Regions from separate parts of the Homo sapiens genome. Here region 2 is linked to region 1. Evidence: promoter capture Hi-C in human tissues and cell types (Jung and others, 2019). All regions are on one chromosome and are shown on one strand. Each heading gives the region's core, a stretch centred on a gene start or on the middle of the fragment in contact. The rest is flanking DNA. Distances are from core to core; before and after follow the strand shown. Region 1 holds the start of FES (FES proto-oncogene, tyrosine kinase). Region 2 has its middle 13 kb from the start of IQGAP1.

What was found. The method cuts DNA at HindIII sites, captures the fragments that hold promoters and counts their contacts. A contact is called where the count stands out against the background at its distance.
Region 2: a contact is called between a fragment that was not itself captured here and the fragment with the promoter of FES in region 1, in 2 of the 25 tissues and cell types used here (dorsolateral prefrontal cortex and stomach).

Annotation. Positions count from the first base shown.
Region 1 is chr15:90,882,873-90,886,410 of GRCh38, forward strand. It overlaps FES (FES proto-oncogene, tyrosine kinase), which reads left to right and starts at 1,632. Exons shown (of 19, transcript NM_002005.4): 1 at 1,632-1,672; 2 at 2,165-2,386; 3 at 2,540-2,713. The coding sequence starts at 2,174. FURIN (furin, paired basic amino acid cleaving enzyme) reads left to right here. Exons shown (of 16, transcript NM_002569.4): 16 at 1-585. RefSeq lists enhancers at 681-810, 2,348-2,777 and a silencer at 1,208-1,717. The HindIII fragment of the contact is 25,407 bases long and covers 1-3,538 here.
Region 2 is chr15:90,373,342-90,376,879 of GRCh38, forward strand. No RefSeq gene overlaps it. Among named protein-coding and RNA genes, the nearest start is that of IQGAP1, 13 kb to the right of the region's middle. The HindIII fragment of the contact is 3,327 bases long and covers 235-3,538 here.

The sequences.
Region 1 (3,538 bases), core at 382-2,881:
CCCTGGCCCTGAGGTGTGGGGGCTGCAGCATGTTGCTGAGGAGTGAGGAATAGTTGAGCCCCAAGTCCTGAAGAGGCGGGCCAGCCAGGCGGGCTCAAGGAAAGGGGGTCCCAGTGGGAGGGGCAGGCTGACATCTGTGTTTCAAGTGGGGCTCGCCATGCCGGGGGTTCATAGGTCACTGGCTCTCCAAGTGCCAGAGGTGGGCAGGTGGTGGCACTGAGCCCCCCCAACACTGTGCCCTGGTGGAGAAAGCACTGACCTGTCATGCCCCCCTCAAACCTCCTCTTCTGACGTGCCTTTTGCACCCCTCCCATTAGGACAATCAGTCCCCTCCCATCTGGGAGTCCCCTTTTCTTTTCTACCCTAGCCATTCCTGGTACCCAGCCATCTGCCCAGGGGTGCCCCCTCCTCTCCCATCCCCCTGCCCTCGTGGCCAGCCCGGCTGGTTTTGTAAGATGCTGGGTTGGTGCACAGTGATTTTTTTCTTGTAATTTAAACAGGCCCAGCATTGCTGGTTCTATTTAATGGACATGAGATAATGTTAGAGGTTTTAAAGTGATTAAACGTGCAGACTATGCAAACCAGGCCCAGTCTCCAGTGTGGTACCGTTGCTCCTGCATCGCAGCTGAGGATAGGGGGCCAGTTAGGCCTACACAGTGGCCTGCCTGCCTGGATGTGGGCCCAAGTCAGAAGGCCAAAGTCCTCCAAGGGGCGGGAGGATGCGCCAGCCCCTAGTGGAGGAGCTGGTGCCCCTGGGGTGGGGCTGGTGACCCCTGGTCCTCAGGAGCTGAGCACTAAACTCCCAAAGTCCTGGTTTCCAGCAGTGTGAAGAACTGGGCCTATTGTGTCTTCCTGGGCTGAAGTGATCTGGTCGCCACAGGCTATAGGGCTGAGGCCTAAGGTGGAGGGAGGCCTGACTGAATCAAGATGACTTCTTGTGGGGAGCCTGAGTCCCAAATGGAAAACTCCACGCCTGTCCGCTCCCCAACCCCTGCCCCTTGATTTCCCCAGGTCTCCCTTGGGACAGGAAGCCCCTGCCTGGGGGTAGGAGGATGGGGACAAAACCACTAGGATCTGTATCCGAGAAGCAGTCTCTGTTCGGGATATTTACTTGGAAATTTTATTCAAATGGAAGCTGGCGCCTGAGCCTCTCCTTAGGGAATTCCGTGAGGTGGGGAGGGCTGGGACCAGGGTTCCCTCTTTCTCTTCTGCGGTGGCCCTGGCCTGGTGCTAGGACTGCGCGCCTCCCCTCAGTACCCGCGGACACCCTGGGCTTCCCTGGGCCCAGCATCTGCCTGGGGCCTCGCCCTGGGCTCCCCCTCCTGACCCCCACCTTGCGCCCCTTCCCGGTGTTCCCGGGGCGCTGCCGGGCCCTGGGGCCTGCGGGGCGCGGGCGGCTCTTGGCTGGGCCATTCTTTCCCGGCCCCCTCCTCCCTTCCGTTTCCGTGGCCGTGCGGCCGGCTAGAGGCTGCGGCCCAGCGCGGAGCAGGGGGGCTGGCAGGCGTCGGGGCGGTCGGGCCGGTCCCGCCCGCCCCTTCCCCTCCACAGGCCCGCCCCGGGGCCTGGGCCAACTGAAACCGCGGGAGGAGGAAGCGCGGAATCAGGAACTGGCCGGGGTCCGCACCGGGCCTGAGTCGGTCCGAGGCCGTCCCAGGAGCAGCTGCCCGTGCGGGTACCTCTAGCCCCGGGGCCTGGAGGAGCGGTGGGAGCTGGGGGCGCGGCAGGCAGGGGCAGAGCAGGCGTTCCGAGGGCCAGAGACCCACCCAGGTGGGGGTAGGGGCCGCGGAAGGGCGGGGATGGCCGCAGGGGCAGGGCTCAGGCTGTGGGCGCCTGAGGCTTCAGCTGGGGCAGGCTTGGCCTGTCGAGGACCTGGGCAAGGGTGTCCCTGTAAGGGGTGGTGGGTGGAAGGGCCTGGGGAGGGAGGCTCCAGGTTGGCTCCTGTTCCCGAACGTGCGGAGGAGACCCTGACGCTAAGGAAGCAATGAGGGCCAGTCCCCAGGCCAGGCTGCTGCTGGGTACCCATGGCTGCGTGTGAGCGAGGCAGGACCCCACCTCCTCCCCGTCTGCAGTCCATCCTGACCCTACAGTCCCCAGTCTCCTCGTCCCATGCCTCCGTCTCCAGCTGCTGCCTTGCCTCCAGGGATGGCCCCTTTTCTGTCCCCAGAACAGCACTATGGGCTTCTCTTCCGAGCTGTGCAGCCCCCAGGGCCACGGGGTCCTGCAGCAAATGCAGGAGGCCGAGCTTCGTCTACTGGAGGGCATGAGAAAGTGGATGGCCCAGCGGGTCAAGAGTGACAGGGAGTATGCAGGACTGCTTCACCACATGTCCCTGCAGGACAGTGGGGGCCAGAGCCGGGCCATCAGCCCTGACAGCCCCATCAGTCAGGTGGGTCTCTATGGGACTCTGGTGGGTGCTGGCTGTATCTGCCTTCTCCTTCCTCTCCTGGGGGCCCTCTGGGGCAGTGGCTGGAGATCTGGCAGGCCAATGCTTGGGAGCCATTGTGCCCCCCTCCCTGCCTCCCCCATCTGTGCTGTATAGTCCTGGGCTGAGATCACCAGCCAAACTGAGGGCCTGAGCCGCTTGCTGCGGCAGCACGCAGAGGATCTGAACTCAGGGCCCCTGAGCAAGCTGAGCCTGCTCATCCGGGAACGGCAGCAGCTTCGCAAGACCTACAGCGAGCAGTGGCAGCAGCTGCAGCAGGAGCTCACCAAGGTGAGCGGGCAGCACTGGGGCTTCGGTCATTTCTGTCTAAATTTTGAGCCTCGAAGGGGTTGTTTTGCACAAGAGGCCCTGGATTCACTGGGGAAGTGTAAGTCCCTGACCGCAGGCCTGGCTTGCTCTAACCTTGATGCAGCTTCCTCTCTTCCTTCCCCTACGTTGAGCTGGCTTGCAGCAAGGCCTCTCTGTGCTTTTTCTGTGCCTGGGCAAAGTGCTGGGAGTGTAAGGATGAGTGACCGGTCACGTGCCTGGGAGAAGCTCAGAATCGGTACTCGCCTCCACACTGTGCCATCTGGCTCTGGGTTCTGAGAGTCAGGGAGAGGAATGAGGGTCAGTCTGTTTGCCTTCGACCTAGGCAGCCTCCTCTCAGGGCCCCAGAGACTGGGCAGCAGCATGGCCCCCCGAAGGTCGAGGATTCGGGCCGTGAAGTCAGCCTGCCTAGGTTTGAATCCCACCCAGCTCCTCAGTCTAGAGGCTGTGTGATTTGGAACTATTTATCTGGGAGCCTAGTGCCCCCATTCAGTGTGCTGGTCACCCTCCCTGCACCACACCCCTTCCTCAAGTGCAGAGCCCAGCCTTGCCATGGACCCACAGCGGCCCCTGGTGGCCACCCTGGCCCCATTCCTCGCCCCAAAAGATCATCTGATTCAAGGGTGGGCCCATTTTTATAAAGTTTTGCTGGAACACAGCTATGCCCTTTTGTTTTCATATTGTCTGTGACTACAATGACAGAGTTGAGTAATTGTGACAGAGGCTCTATGGCCTACAAGCGTAAAATATTTATTTACTATCTGGCCCTTTAAGAAAAAGACTGATCTA
Region 2 (3,538 bases), core at 648-3,147, 510 kb before region 1:
AAACAGAATATATGGACACACGTCGAACCCCACATTGTATCTCTCTAATTTATTCAATTTAATTCAGTAAACACTCATTACCTCTTATATCCAGGCCTAGTTGAGGGTGCTGGGGATACAGGTATAAACATGACAGTTCTCTTGAGGAGCACAGAGTGGTTGTGGGAAACAGACATACAGACACACAGTTTCTTTCTTTCTTTTTTCTTTTTTTTTTTTTTTTTGAGACAGAGTCTCACTCTGTCCTTCAGGCCGGAATGCAGTGAGGTGATCTCAGCTCACCACAACCTCCACCTCCTGGGTTCAAGCGATTCTCCTGCCTCTGACTCCCCAGTAGCTGGGATTACAGTAATGCGCCACCACACCCACCTAATTTTTGTATTTTTAGTAGAGACAGGCTTTTGCCATGTTGGCCAGGCTGGTCTCAAACTCCTGAACTCAGGTGATCCGCCTGCCTCGGCCTCCCAAAGTGCTGGGATTACAGGTGTGAGCCACCATGCCCGGCCCAGACACATAGTTTCAATACAAGAAGTATATGTCAGCCAGAGAAGGGCTATCTTGAGAGTCAAGGAAGGCTCCCTGGAGGAGGTATCACTTATGCCAGTTGGTACATGAATGAGTAAATGCAAACAAGCCATGATACTGAAATAAAGCTTTGTTTAATTAACCTTCACATGTAAATTCAGCCACAGAAGACATTCTGATACATGGGGGCATTGCCAGTGATTCCACGAAACTGGATAATGTCATTGATGCTTGTGGTTGAGAGAGCTTGTTTCTGTATTGTAAGGAAGGTGGTACAACCTGGCCTTTCTTTTAAAAAAAAAAAAAAATTCAAACTGGACATGTGTCAATGAACTGACTGGAGTCTTAGGGAGGAACATTGCTCCATAGCTATATGTCTCTCCCGTTTTTTCCTGTGTTAGTCTTTTTTTTTAATTTTTTTAAAATTTTTTTGAGACAGAGTCTTGCTCTGTTGCCCAGGCTGGAGTGCAGTGGTGTGATCTTGGCTCGCTGCAAGCTCCGCCTCCCGGGTTCAAGCAATTCTCCTGCCTCAGCTTCCCAAATAGCTGGGACTACAGATGCATGCCACCATGCCTGGCTAATTTTTGTATTTTTAGTAGAGACAGAATTTCACCATGTTGGCTACACTGGTTTGGACCTCCTGACCTGAGGGGTTCCACCTGCCTCGGCCTCTCAAAGTGCTGAGATTACAGGAGTGAGCCACCTTGTCTAGCTCTTTTTTTTTTTTTCTTTTGAGACAAGTTCTTGCTCTGTCTCCCAGGCTGGAACGCAGTGGTGCAATCACAGCTCCCTGCAGCCTCGACCTCCCCAGCTCAAGTGATCTTCCCACCTCAGCCTCCCCAGTAGCTGGGGCCACAGGCATGCACCACTACGCCCAGCTAATTTTTTTTATTTTTTGTAGAGATGGTGTCTCACCATGTTGCACAGGCTGGTATCCAACTGCTGGGCTCAAGCAATCTTCCTGCCATGGCCTCCCAAAGTGCTAGGATTACAGGCGTGAGCCACTGTGCCCACGTGTTAGTCTTTACATAACTGAATAGTGACTGAAGTCTTGCAGTTTCTACCTTGCCCTGCACTGGCATTATAAGTTGTAGTAGAAATGTCACTCATTGCTTGTAATCTCATGAGAGGCCTAGTTAGATTTTTCTGTACTCTACTTCCAGAGGAGCTTATAGGAAGGTGACTTTCCATAAAGGATGTGAGCTTTCTACCACCCAAATATCAGTCGTAAAGAAAATGAGGAGTGATAAAGAAAGAAGGTATTGAGAGGTGAAGCCAGCTGGGCTTCTAGGTTGGGTGGGGACTTGGAAAACTTTTCTGTCTAGCTAGAGGATTAAAAACGCACCAATCAGCACTCTTTGTCTAGCTAAAGTATTGTAAATGCACCAATCAGCACACTGTAAAAACGCACCAATCAGCACTCTGTGTCTAGCTAAAGGACTGTAAACGCACCAGTCAGCACTCTGTAAAATGGACTAATCAGCAGGATGTGGGTGGGGCCAAATAAGGCAATAAAAGCTGGCCAGCGAAGCCAGCAGCAGGCAACCCACTCGGGTGCCCTTCCATGCTGTGGAAGCTTTGTTCTTTCGCTCTTCACAGTAAATCTTGCTGCTGCTCACTCTGGGTCCGCACTACCTTCATGAGCTGTAACACTCAATGCGAGGGTCTGCGGCTGCATTCCTGAAGTCAGCAAGACCACAAACCCACCGGGAGGAACAAACAACTCCAGATGAGCCACCTTTAAGAGCTGTAACACTCACTGCGAAGGTGTGCGGCTTCACTCCTGAAGTCAGTGAGACCACGAACCCACTGGAAGGAAGAAACTCCGGACACATCTGAACATCTGAAGGAACAAACTCCGGACACACCATCTTTAAGAGCTGTAACGCTCACCGTGAAGGTCCGTGGTTTCATTCTTGAAGTCAGCGAGACCAAGCATCCACCAAAAGGAATAAATTCCAGACGCAGTATTTACAGCCCAGTGTCCACCCATTCCCCATGTAGCAACCCCTGGTACCTGAGGAAAAAGGTCACAGCCTCTGCCAATGGTGGGGCATCTTTCCGAAGAGGTTCCACTTGGACTTTTTGAAACATCATGTGGCTGTGCTGTTTGAGAAGCCTGGGGTGAAATTAACTATACAAGAATCAGGGCATGATCACACACGCACACACCTTTGCAATTTTTCTGGCTTTGTTTACACTGTTACTGCAACTTGTGCCCTTTCTCACCCTTTTCATAGGTCTTCCCTGCAAAGTCTTTTTTTTTTTTTTTTTTTGAGACGGAGTCTCGCTCTGTCGTTCAGGCTGGAGTGCAGTGGCGTGATCTCGGCTCACTGCAACCTCCGCCTCCTGGGTTCACGCCATTCTCCCGCCTCAGCCTCCCGAGTAGCTGGGACTACAGGCACCTGCTACCTGGCGCAGCTAATTTGTGTATTTTTAATAGAGACGGGTTTCACCGTGTTAACGAGGATGGTCTCCATCTCTTGACCTCATGATCTGCCCGCCTCAGCCTCCCAAAGTGTTAGGATTACAGGCCTGAGCCACCGCACCCGACCCATCAACTGTTCTCTTATCTGTGCTCCTAGATCTCTATCTTGATGTCTGAAAGCTTCTTGAGAGTGCTTTGTCAGGTCTATGTCCATCACATTCTTTGGTGGATGTGGCCTCACAAATCTTTCAACTCAGCCCTCTAGGTCCTCATGTGCATTAGTGGAGAATAGCGTTCACATATGTGGGCTTTGGGTCCAATGCAGTTTGAATACTGAGTATGTCACTAACTAGTTGTGTAATTTTTGGAACATTGTTAACCTTTCTGATTTCAGTTTCCTTATCCTTAAATTGAAAATTCTAGTAGTTCCTACCTCATAGGATTGTTGTGAAGGTCAAATGAGATCAAATACTTACAACTGGACCTAAGGGGCACTCATTATGAGTTAGCTGTTGTTACTAGTAACCCATTGTCATCCCTGTAGATGTTTCAGGGGTTTGCCGTGGGGAACCCTGCCATGCAGGC